4 separate regions of the Homo sapiens genome follow, and regions 2, 3 and 4 are each linked to region 1. Evidence: promoter capture Hi-C in 16 types of primary human blood cells and fetal thymus (Javierre and others, 2016). All regions are on one chromosome and are shown on one strand. Each heading gives the region's core, a stretch centred on a gene start or on the middle of the fragment in contact. The rest is flanking DNA. Distances are from core to core; before and after follow the strand shown.

What was found. Contacts are between HindIII fragments. The CHiCAGO score rates a contact against its expected background, and 5 or more counts as called.
Region 2: a fragment that was not itself captured here is called in contact with the fragment with the promoter of CERS6-AS1 in region 1 in 1 of 17 cell types (total CD4 T cells); the score reaches 5.1 in total CD4 T cells.
Region 3: a contact is called between a fragment that was not itself captured here and the fragment with the promoter of CERS6-AS1 in region 1, in 1 of 17 cell types (activated CD4 T cells). The highest score is 5.7, in activated CD4 T cells.
Region 4: a fragment that was not itself captured here is called in contact with the fragment with the promoter of CERS6-AS1 in region 1 in 1 of 17 cell types (total CD4 T cells); the score reaches 6.6 in total CD4 T cells.

What each region holds. Positions count from the first base shown.
Region 1 is chr2:168,785,033-168,788,082 of GRCh38, forward strand. CERS6-AS1 (CERS6 antisense RNA 1) reads right to left here and starts at 1,397. Exons shown (of 3, transcript NR_045787.1): 1 at 1,325-1,397. It also overlaps a transcript of NOSTRIN not described here. The HindIII fragment of the contact is 3,155 bases long and covers 1-2,907 here.
Region 2 is chr2:168,167,482-168,170,588 of GRCh38, forward strand. The region is part of intron 2 of STK39 (serine/threonine kinase 39); the gene reads right to left. Among named protein-coding and RNA genes, the nearest start is that of STK39, 79 kb to the right of the region's middle. The HindIII fragment of the contact is 1,902 bases long and covers 867-2,768 here.
Region 3 is chr2:168,209,306-168,212,217 of GRCh38, forward strand. The region is part of intron 1 of STK39 (serine/threonine kinase 39); the gene reads right to left. LOC124906088 (a long non-coding RNA gene) reads left to right here and starts at 2,145. Exons shown (of 2, transcript XR_007087283.1): 1 at 2,145-2,227; 2 at 2,694-2,912. RefSeq lists an enhancer at 1,515-2,714. The HindIII fragment of the contact is 3,118 bases long and covers 1-2,825 here.
Region 4 is chr2:168,142,909-168,146,067 of GRCh38, forward strand. The region is part of intron 5 of STK39 (serine/threonine kinase 39); the gene reads right to left. Among named protein-coding and RNA genes, the nearest start is that of STK39, 100 kb to the right of the region's middle. The HindIII fragment of the contact is 7,322 bases long and covers 1-3,159 here.

The DNA.
Region 1 (3,050 bases), core at 147-2,646:
GATCTGGGTTTTAAGAATGGGCTGAAAGACTCATAGGGAAAAAGTCCCAGGGGTGGGTAGTAGGTGAGGGATGAAATGCTACAAAGCGAGTTTATTTTCTGTAACTTGAGTTATAGGAAATAAAAGAGCAGTTCCCAGCCCTCCTCTTTTTGAGTCATAGCTGTTAATTTGATTCATCAGGACTGAACTCTTGGCTCTGGCCAAAGTTCCTGACCCAGAGTGCTAGTTACTGTCTGGCAAGCCATCAAGCAATCCTATGTTAGATTTCAGACTAATTGGAGCTATGTCACCAAAGATGAGTTCAAAAGGGTCCCTAGAGTTTTTAAGAGCAAAGAGTATTGTTTTTCTCTCAGCTGAGGGTACTAGATGGTACATAGAACTGAGCCCTGATGTACTACACTTCTAGTGCTGCCATTTCTTAGTTGTATCACTTAGAAGTCATTTCTGAGGAGTTATAAAATAGTTTGCACTATGCTAACCAGTAGTTTACACTATGCTACATGTACCAAATTGTTTACCCACAGAGCCAGAACACTAATGAAAGCAGTAAAATGCACATCAACATTAAGTCAATAAATGTATTGAGCACCAATCGTTCGAGACATTATGTTAGGCTTTGTGAGGAGTATGAGGAAGTCAGGGGCAAAGCTGCTGCATTGAAGGGGGTCTCAATACAGTTAGGGAGGTAGGCCACAGGCAGAAGTTATTAGCTCTAAAGATTTTTTTTTTTTTTTAAGACAGAGTCTCACTCTGTTGCCCAGGCTGGAGTGCAGTGGCACGGGATCTCAGCTCACTGCAACCTCTGCCTCCCAGGTTCAAGTGATTCTCGTGCCTCAGCCTCCTGAGTAGCTGGAATTACAGGTGCATGCCACCACACCCAGCTAATTTTTTTGTATTTTTAGTAGAGATGGGGTTTCACCATATTGGCCAGGCTGGTCTTGAACTCCTGGCCTCAAGTGATCCACCTGCCTCGGCCTCCCAAAGTGCTAGGATTACAGGCATAAGCCACTGCACACGGCCAGCAAAAGGCTTTTAAAAATAAAAATAAAATCTATAGATATAAGACATTGGTATCATCGTTATATCAAATATGTTGTGAGAATAGTAATTGCCAGAAAAGTTCAGAGGAGAGAGAGGTTGTGTTATAGTAGTCAGGCAGACATCAGCAGGCCAGGAGAGGGCTGCACGCCCAACCAGGAATGTCAGACGACCATCAAGTGATGGTCAGGTGGTTGTTACACTGTTACAATCATTATTTCTCTAAAACAATAATTAGTCACAGCCAGCACGAGGGAAAGGCAATCTCCCGACAGACAGAAAAAACCTGAAACTGGTTATCAGCAGCGTCCCAATAAGATCTCAGGTGTTAGGTAAGTGGGCTCAAGCATGCGCACTATGAGGCAAAATGGGGGAGTTTAACTGGTATATGACCTTCCTCTAGGAACGTTAGATTGGTAATAGAAGAACGTCTCAAGTGAGCATGCGTATAACTCCCGTAAACACACTGCGCATGCAGCCCTTCCCAAGCACTGGTAGGGCACTGGGCATGCAGACAGCCCACCAGAAGGGAAGAATCAGGAGAAAAGGGATGCAAGATCCCAGAGGTATGCCAATATATAAAACCCTAAGGCAAAGGTCAAGCCAGCCACTTGATCCCTCAAGTGGCCAGCTTGGCCCTCCTCGAAGTGTACTTTACTTCCTTTCGTTCCTGCCCTAAAACCTTTTAGTAAACTTTCACTCTTGCTCTAAAACTTGCCTCAGTCTCTCAGTCTGCCTTATTTTTCCTCGGTCAAATTCTTCCCTGCCTCCCCCCTCCTCCAGAGTAGCTGGGACTACAGGCGCCCGCCATCACACCTGGCTAATTTTTTGTATTTTTAGTAGAGACGGGGTTTCACCATGTTGTTCAGGCTGGTCTCGAATGCCTGACCTCAAGTGATCCACCTGCCTCAACCTTCCAAAGTTCTGGGATTACAGGCGTGAGCCACCACACCCGGCCCCAAATTCTTTCTTCTAAGGAGCTAAGAATTGAGTTCGCTGCGGACCCATAAGGATTCGCTGCTCGTAACAGCTGCTTCTGGGATCAGGTAAGAAAAGGTTTCAAGCAGAAAGCTAGGAAGAATGAATAGTATTTGAATGAGTCAAGTGGAAAGAGGAAAGGCATTTGAGACAAAGGGCATAGCGTGAAGCAGTGAGGCAGCCTCCACCCCACTTCCTACCACCTGTTCTCCCCCTTAGTGGCCTGACCTTGACCTTCCACTCCATCCTCATCCCTCCCCATGGGCACTGTCTCAGAATGTGCCATGCCTGTGACAGCTCCAGGACTCTGGCCATACTGCTTACACTGCCACAGAGACCTCTTTCCTCTTCTTCTTCATGTCGCTAACTCTTACTTGGCCTTGAAGACTAATTTGTGTTAGAAGTTAGTCTTCCCAGAAAGCCTTAGCCTTTGGGAATTTGGTGCTCTTCCTTGAGAAGAAAAGGTACAACCATTTAACTCCATCAGAACACTTATCACACGGCCTTCCCCACTGGACTCAATGGAAGCATCTTGAGGGCAAAGGCCTTACCTTTTATAGCTGATCCTTATCAGCCACAGTGTCCACTACACAGCAGGTGCCCAATAAATTCCTGTAGAATGAATATGCATTTACAGAAAGAGGAGCTGTGAGAAGATGCCTCAGTTTTTGGAAAGGAAAAATGGGTTGATTTTTACATTTTGAATTTAAGCTGATGAGAGTCCTTTCATGTGGACATGTCTAACAAAAATTGGAAGTAGAAGACTGAAACTGGAGGCTGTTGTGATTTTCATTTTTTTTAATTTTTTTCAGATAAACTGAAGCACAAGAGGGTAAAAACTTTGTCCTTGGTCTTACAGCCAGAAAGTGGTGATGCAAAGAACTTAGTCCAAGCTTTGATCTGTTCTGCACTGCCTGCCAAAGCAGAACCTTGAGAAATACCCATGTTTGGGGGATGAGAAGAAGAAGATAAATCAGCAAAGAAAATAGTGATAAGAAAGGTAAGTGATAAGAAAAAAAAAATGATGTAAATAG
Region 2 (3,107 bases), core at 568-3,067, 620 kb before region 1:
GAGTACCTGGGTAACTTTCCTACTCGAAAGCCTACCTGAGGGGCTGCCTAAGCCATTACTTCAAAGAAGGTATATAAGGACCAATTCTCTCACCCACATTATCAACTCAGATTAGAAAGTTCTCTACAGGAGACCACAGAGCCCTGTGGACCAGCTACCAGACACAGGAACTTCAGATCACTGTTATCACCCAGATGACCCCCCAACTCTGCCAGCAGAGAGCCCTGCCACATAGGACTAAGAGCCTCATACCTGAACCGAAGGCTTGACAGGGAGATAAAAGACTGGGTGAGTTACTAGGACACCTGCATCCTGGTGCCAGCCTGAACTCTGGTGGATCTTAGCTCCTCCCTCATCCAAAAAACGACAACAAAACTGTCCCTGTTTCTCAGGACTGCTGTGATGGTAAATGAGAAAATACATTTGAAAATGCTACAGTATTATTTCCCAGCTATCTGCCACAGTAGATATTCCATTAACTAAAAAAAGGAGGTGGCAGGGAAGAGAGCGGCAGGCGAAGTAAAATAAGCTTGGGAAAGATCAGATAATATATCTCATTCTAAAAGAATCACAGGGAATATTAGTACTGTCAAAGGCTCTGAGAAGTCCTGCAGTAGATAAACTGCCATAGTTTAATCCATATTAACAGAGCAGGAAAAGAATGCTTTGTGGGTCACATCTTGGAAACACTGCTGTAGAGAATAAAATATATTTTATTCTTTGTTGTTTTATATAAAGACATAAAACAACAAAGCTGAGAAATAAAACAAAAGGAAACTTTCAATAAATCACATTTTTCTGGAATATTCAGTTTCATATTGATTTCAGTTTCTCGTTTTAAGTTATTGTCGGATGACTCCCATAAAAGCTTCAGTCTAATGTAACTCTCAATCAAAGGTACCAGACCAGTGTAACTCACTTTCAAGGTGCCATAAAAAGGACAAGAATAACCTAAATGATCAAAGAAACCTCATTTTTGCCATTATGTATTGATGAAAGAAGGGTACATTTATGCATCCTATGAATATATTCAATAATAATGAGCTTCACATTAACTCAAAGTTACCCAAGCAGAACATCTCAATTTGGACGTTATCTTTGCTTGTCCAGTACTGCCTAATCCTCATACTACTAAAAAGATCCTATATATCCGACAACTTGGCCAAAATTCTGTAATATGTAACACTCATACGTTCCTTAACATATATGTTTATTTAAAGTGCTTTTGGCTGGGGGCAGTGGCTCATACATGTAATCCCAACACTTTGGGAGGCCGCAGCAGGCGGATCACCCGAGGTCAGGAGTTCAAGACCAGCCCAGCCAACATGAGAAACATTGTCTCTACAAAAAAATTAGCTGAGTGTGGTGGTGTGCGCCTGTAGTCCCAATGACTGAGGAAGCTGAGGAACGAGAATCACTCAAACCCGGGAAGTGGAGGTTGCAGTGAGCTGAGATCGTGCCACTGGACTCCAGCCTGAGTGACAAAGCAAGATTCTGTCTCAAAAAAAAATTAAAAAATAATAAAAATGAAGTGCTTTTAACCAAAGATAAACTCCTTAGAAACTACTAATTTTTCTTTTTTCTTCTCAGTATATAACAATGATTTTCCTTCATCATTCCCCTCATCCATTTGACTGATTACAGGTTTTCTAAATCTGACACTTTTCAATTCAGCAACTCTTATCCTTTGAATAAGATCTGAAACCTGAGGTTCAGTTTCCATCTGTTTCCGGTATTAGGTTCTGATGCCATAAGACACTTCTGAAGGAGAAATGGAACACTGCCCTGGCCACTCCTATTTCAAGTCAATAGCATCTGCTCAGTGCGGGGATGGCCCACACTGAAGGTCTGTAGCATTAGGTAGGGTCCAGTTTAAACAGATGCCTAGTGTTCAAAGAAACGAGAACAATGTCTCTTAAATGCAGCTGCACTCTAAATGTAAGTGAATGCTTTTCTAGTGCTGTAACTCCAAACTTTTAAATAATTTATCAAAATGCACAAAACAACTAATGGTCATACAAAAGGAAATTCTTTTACATTGAAGGCAAGGTTGAGTCAGTCTAGAAAAACACACTTTTTAGCCCTTTGCATTTAGATGGCCAGTATCACTTCCCACCCAAAGTATCAGGTTCTCTGACTTTGCAGTGAGCGTGTGTGTGTGTGTGTGTGTGTGTGTGTGTAACTCCTTTAGAAAACCTGTAGAACCTATAGATATAACTTAGCAAATTCTATTCCTTCAAAACTCTGAGTCTTAGAGACACCATCTGGACATTAAAAGGTTCCAGAATTTAAATGAGTGGGGGATGAGGGGTCACAGATACTGCCACACCAACACAACCACAGGAGCAGTATAAGGACAGGTAAAAGAAGGGGCAGGGGGCCCAAGAGTGGCTTTCCATCAGTTTGATCACTCAACCTCACATTCTTCTTCCATGCAGCTGAGCCATCCCTCTTCACTTCTTGGCTAGGGGGGTCCATGTCCCCAACTCCTGCACCATCCATTGTCCTGCACAGCAGCTTTTCCACAAGCATTAATGCTTAAGGACATGATGAAACTCGCCTTAGGGAGAAACATCTGTAGCTCTGTCTTGAGATATGACCTATGCTATCACTGATCCCCAGGATAAGTAATATTTCCACATAGAAGAAAGTTAAAAACCTGAAAACTAGAAATCTTTCCACAAAACTATCCCCTCCATTCTTTTCAAAACAATGATGGGTGTTATTTGAAAGCTCCCTTGGTAACAATCTATTGGTTAAATTATCTAAGCTTCTCCTAATGCCCTAACCGCATTCATATGGTTAGGAAAAGACATTCATTACCAAGCATATTTGTTTGTCCCTATCCCTAAAAATGACAAAACTATTGCCTAAAGATGAACAATTTGAAAATATAAAAATGTTTTAGCTGATTCTTTCGACAGAATGAATGGGTTCTAACATCCTATTCTCTTAATTAGGTCACAACCCAAGGCAGAAGCGTGAGTTAAAGCGGTGCTTCCCTAATTTGGATGGGCATGCAGATCACCTCAGCAATTTGCTAAGATGCAGACTCCCATTCGGAAGGGCTGCAGTGCGGCCTGAGAATCTGCATTTCTAGCAGGCTT
Region 3 (2,912 bases), core at 17-2,516, 580 kb before region 1:
TGGGGAAAAAAGCTCAACTATGAAGGTAGGTGTATTCTTAGATATATATAACTTTGAAACCTTTCTCTTACTATAAGAAACTAATGTAAGGCCTGGCGCGGTGGCTCACGCCTGTAATCCCAGCACTTTGGGAGGCGGAGGTGGGCAGATCCCCTGAGGTCAGGAGTTTGAGACTAGCCTGACCAACATGGAGAAACCCCATCTCTACTAAAAATACAAAATTAGCCGGGCACGGTGGCACATGCCCGTAATCCCAGCTACTTACTCGGTTGGCTGGGGCAGAAGAATCACTTGAACCCAGGAGGCAGAGGTTGGAGTGAGCCGAGATCGCACCACTGCACTCCAGCCTGGGGCGACAAGAGCAAAACTCTGTCTCAGAAACAAACGAAAAGAAAGAAACTAATGTAATTAGGCTGGGTGCGGAGGCTCACGCCTGTAATCCCAACAGTTTGGGAGGCCGAGGCAGGCAGATCACTTAAGGTCAGGAGTTCGAGACCAGCCTGGCCAACATGGTGAAACCCAGTCTCTATTAAAAATACAAAAACTAATCAGGCGTGGTGGCAGGCGTCTATAATCCCAGCTATCCAGGAGGCTGAAGCAAGAGAATTGCTTGAGCCTGGGAGGCAGAGGTTGCAATGAGCCAAGATCACCATTACATTCCAGCTTGGGTGACAAAGTGAGACTCTATCTCAAAAAAAAAAAAAAAATAGGAAAGAAAGGAAAGAAAGGAAGGAAGGAAGGAAGGAAGGAAGGAAGGAAGGAAGGAAGGAAGGAAGAAAGAAACTCATGTAATTAGAAAAACCTCAATTCTCACCCATGCTGCAAAAATGGCACACCAACTCTGAAGACATCCATTGATAAAATAGGCATATATGTGCTTACTTCTTTTGAGTCATACTATCACTACTGTGAACATATTGGAAACTGACACTTTTCACAAATATCACCTGCAATTTTAAAAATTAAAAGTGTAAACCCAAAGAATTGCAATGCAAATATCAAAAGTTCACCTCAAAGGTCATTTATCACCATTTTTTTCCCACCCCTTCTTGAAATGCTGGCTCAGAGAATTGCTATGAAAGAAAATATGTTGTGGTTTCATTAAAATTTCTAACTTAGAGATGTTGCAAACTTCATTATCAGTTACTGGATCATACAAGCTGCACACACATCAAGACACCTACTCCCATTAGTTAAGCAAACTATCAAACTTTGTTGTTTTGTTTTGTTTTGAGACGAAGTCTTGCTCTGTCGTCCAGGCAGGAGTGCAGTGGCATGATCTTAGCTCCCTGCAACCTCCGCCTCCTGGGTTCAAGCGATTCTCCTGCCTCAGCCTCCCTAGGAACTGGGACCACAGGCACCTGCCACCACACCCGGCTAATTTTTATATTTTTAGTACAGATGTGGTTTTGCCATGTCAGCCAGGCTGGTCTCAAACCCCCGACCTCAAATGATCCTCTCACCTCAGCCTCCCTAAGTGCTGAAATTACAGACGTGAGCCACTGCGCCCAGCCTCAAACTTTGAATAACGGATTTAAAATCTGAACAGGAAAATCTTTAATCTCCTCTTTGTTTTCAGCAGGAACACTAGAGAAGAGACAATCTACACAAAATAATATACAACTTAATTATAATTTCACTTGTCTTTCTCTGAAATAAGGCAAAAAAAATGCTCATCAAAATTTCAATGGTGAGTAGTCATTATATGGTTAAAAAGAGAAAGTATAACGTATTAGTCCGTTTTCTCTATTTACGTAATCACAATGAACAAACTGAAACTTCAGTTCCTCTAAATCCAACTTTAAAATCTTGCACCCTCAATATTCTAGGGCAAAAAAAATTATTAATTAGCTATAAATCTAGACAATAAAAATATTTTAACTTAGATCCACCCAAAAGGCAAAGAATGACTGTTATCTCTCCCACCCCATCTATCTCATCTCAAGAGTGTTACTAAATATGGATGTATTGCTCAACTTCCCTGCTCCACACAAGTATAGACTGCAACTAGAGTGACTGTTCTTCATTTCAAACACATGAGTCAAGAGGAAGTAGTAGTAATTATTTATTGGTCAGCACACATTCATCAGGTACTCACCACATATGTGCACCTGTTTATAAGGGTCATTTCTGTTCTAGAGTTTACCAGAGTTCACCAACCCTGTGAAGAGACAGGCCAGGAGTTCAGCCTTCTCAACCATGCTTTGTGCCTTCAACCTCTAAACCAGTGAGTTCTGGGTAATATTTGATGATAGGAAGTATTCCTGCCTTAAAGATGGGACTTTATATCTGCATCTGCCTTCCAATTTATTCTTATATTTTAATTTTACTTAGTTGTGGGTAGCAAACATACTGTCTACTTGATAAAGCATCATCAACGCCCTGTCTTACGTCTCTGAGGAGCTCATGAGAGGAATCTGTACTAGTCACTGTGCAAGAGTGGAAAATAATCTGTCAGTGTAGCTGTGTGCAAACACCTCCTCTTTCTGCACAGGGCGTTCATGTATAAATTCCTATGCCTGGTTCTGAAAGCAAAATTCTGACACAAACACTCACTGGTTCTCTTATTAACTAAGTCTATACCATAATCAGGGTGTGCATACCAGCTGCTGGGAATGGAGAGGTGGTGGTTAACTGCCCCACTCTGTCACAGTTACTTTCAAAAATGACTTACTGATCATTATTCGTTTTAGTTCCACAGAAAGAATGAGACATCTCAGTTGAAACTAATACCCAAAAGGAACCTGAATGGCACCTTTAAAAAATATCTCATCCAGTCATCCAGAACCTTTGTTTCTCTCACTTTAGAAGAGGTGAAAGAAGAAAGCTTGAGTCGTAAATTGAAGACCTTCCTGTTACCTTCCTTTTACAGAAACAAAAGCAGCTTGTCAGGCAAAGATTATCTGAATACC
Region 4 (3,159 bases), core at 594-3,093, 640 kb before region 1:
AGTGTGCTTATGTTATATACACAAAAAATTGGTATATTATATTGAGATAGCTTGCATATGACAGTTAGAACAAGGTGGCAGAACTGTAACAGTGAAAAGCTGTCCTTGTTTCCTAAGGGGTACATCTATACAGCCAAAGGGAATGCAGCCAGATTCACTTGGGTACAAAACCACAGACATTTCTCTAGAAACACAGAATCAAAGGCTACACATAAAGTTAGCCAGTCCATCTCCCTGCCTCCAGGAATAACTGGAGGATATGGGTAAATGCTGCTTTAAGAAAAACAACAACAACAACAAATAATGCTGTCATCCTAATAACAAAAAGGGTCTAAGACCTTCTGAATCCATCCACTTCTTTGCTCCTCCACAGCCACTGCCTTCATTTAATCCACCACTACTTCTTGCTAAGATTTCTGCAGCAGCCTCCTAAGTTCCCATCTCCCTTCTTTCCCCAGATCCAGGCTCCAGCAACCAGGCCTTTCTATGTCACAGGCCTGAGCCCTCCTTAAAAGACTTTCAGGACAGGAGCGGTGGCTCATGCCTGTAACCCCAGCACTTTGGGAGGCCAATGCAAGTGGATCACGAGGTCAGGAGTTCAAGACCATCCAGGCCAACATGGTGAAACCCCATCTCTACTAAAAAAATACAAAAAATCAGCTGGGCCTGGTGGCACGCGCCTGTAGTCCCAGCAACTCTGGAGGCTGAGGCGGGGGAATCGCTTGAACCCAGGAGGCGGAGGTTGCAGTGAGCTGAGATCATGCCACTCCACTCTGGCCTGGCAAGAGAGCAAGACTTTGTCTCAAAAAAAAAAAAAAGTCTTTCAAGGCTCCCTGTCCCCTCAGGAAAAAGTCAAAATCCTTCAGCATAACACGTAAACCTATATCACTACTCTCAGATTCAGACAGTAAGCTCCAGCCTACTGAATGACTTACTTTTTATTCCCTGATCCCATCACCTCCTTGGCCTCACCAGCATTGCCCTTGCACATGATGCTTTGTCGTCTAGGTACATCAACCCTCCATGCTGAACAGGTGCACCAGCAGAAGGCTTTCTGCATGACCTTGTTAATGACACAGCATCTCCGGCACCCTGGCTCTTGGTGAGTAATTTGATGTGCATTCATCACCTTTGCGTAATTTGATTTCAGTAACATTGGTCATGGTCTAGTTTTGATGTGTGAATGCTACTAAGCCTTGAGGAGGATCTGCAGGTATGGTTATCTGATTTGGAGAGTGGCAGATCTACTAGGAAACATTACAGGACTAATGGGCAAGATCTGAGTGTTAACAGTGATTAGGCCTAAGGCTAGACTATTACCCAACTGTATGACTCCCGAAAGGGACTTAAACTTTCTGGGCCTTATTGGGCTTCTTATTTAGGCCTATTTTTATTTATTTATTTTATTTTTTTGAAACAGAGTCTCGCTCTGTCGCCCAAGGTGGAACATAGTGGCATGATCATGGCTCACTGCAGCCTCAACCTCCCATGCTCAAGCGATCCTCCTACCTCAGCCTCCCAAGCAGCTATGACTACAGGCATGTGCTACCATGCCCATCTAATTTATTTTTATTTTTTGTAGATATGGGGTCTCTCTATGTTGCCCAAGGTGTTCTCAAACTGTTGAGCTCAAGCGATCCTCCTGTCTCAGCCTCCCAACGTGCTGGAATTATAAGCATGAGCCACCATGCCGAGCCTCAATTTCTATATTACTTTCATATTTATAAGACTCATTTTTTTTTTTACCATGTATGACTATTCTTTATAACAACTGTTAGGTAGATCGATAAGCTACTCACTGCCTTTTCATAAGCAAGGCAAGCAGGCTGAGGGGATAAGCATAAATATTTTACAGTGGCAGAGATAAAATAGGAGAAGACATGTTTCTTGACTTCAACAATATTTGTCGGGCATGATAGTTCATTAGGTGGGTGCGGTGGCATGCAACTGTAATTTCAGCTACTCAGGAGGATGAAATGGGAGAATCGCTTGAGCCCAGGAGGTCGAGGACGCAGTAAGCCATGATCATGCCACTGCACTCCAGTCTAGGCAACAGAGTGAGCCCGTCTCAGAAAAAAAAAAAAAAGAATATTCCCACCTAAGTAGGATAAGATGTATAAAATCAAATACTATATTGTCTGTGTAGAAGCAGAGGAGCTATAACCATAATGGTCATAGAAGACTATCTCCAAAGTGGGTCTTGGAGCCAGCCTTCAAGATGAGGTGAAGACTTGGATGAGCAAGTCCAACAGGAAACAAATTCCAGACAAAGAAACGGCATGAGCAAAGCACAAGTGTGGAGCCAAGAAGAAAAACTGACAGCTGCAAGGGTCAAAAACTCAAAACACCTACAGCAGCCAGGCAGGAATACAATGGAGAAAAGAGGGTCCTGAAAAACAACAGCTACAGTCTCAGTGACAAGGGCCCTTGATGCTCAGTCTCTGTGACGGGAGACTTTAGGAGTGCTGGGCCCTGTGTGAAGCCCTGGAGCCCACTGTCAGCACCCTCCCACCAAGGTCCAAGGCAGGCCCCTGCTGCTTGGCACCAGAAGAAAGTTGCCATAGAGAAATGTAGACCCAGGATTGCTGGATATCCCAGTTTTCCCAAAAAAGCCAAACATTGGAATCTTTATGAAAAAGCTCCCTTTCTTACTGTAGTTGGCAACAAATTCATTTTTAAAAAAATAGAAAAGCGATTTCTCCTGCCTAATTTAGTCCGCAAAACTAAAGTCTGCCAACTGTGTGGTTATGATGTCTAAAATGTACCTAAAATACTTCAACATATGCCATGTGATATTATGTTTGTGATACCACAACCTAGGTGGTCAGCTGGCATTCTAACCAAGAATGTCCAGTGCTGGGGGGGTTCTGATAGCACTCGACTCAGGATGCCAGAGGCAGCTGCTGGAAGTATTTCTATTATCCAAATCTAAATATAGATGAGCATAAGCCAGGTGACTGATTGTCCAAAGGGGTTATTATTAGGGAAAACAGTGACCTGTTGAGAGGTATGATACATGTTAGAAATGGGCTTTCACTGCTGAAAATAAAGGTTCTTAGCACCAGAGAGTGGCTAAAATATTTTAGATATACTCCTTACTCTTGCATGAACAGAATAAAACAATCCAGTCCAGTCCAACTGTAGACTATACCCTAGCCA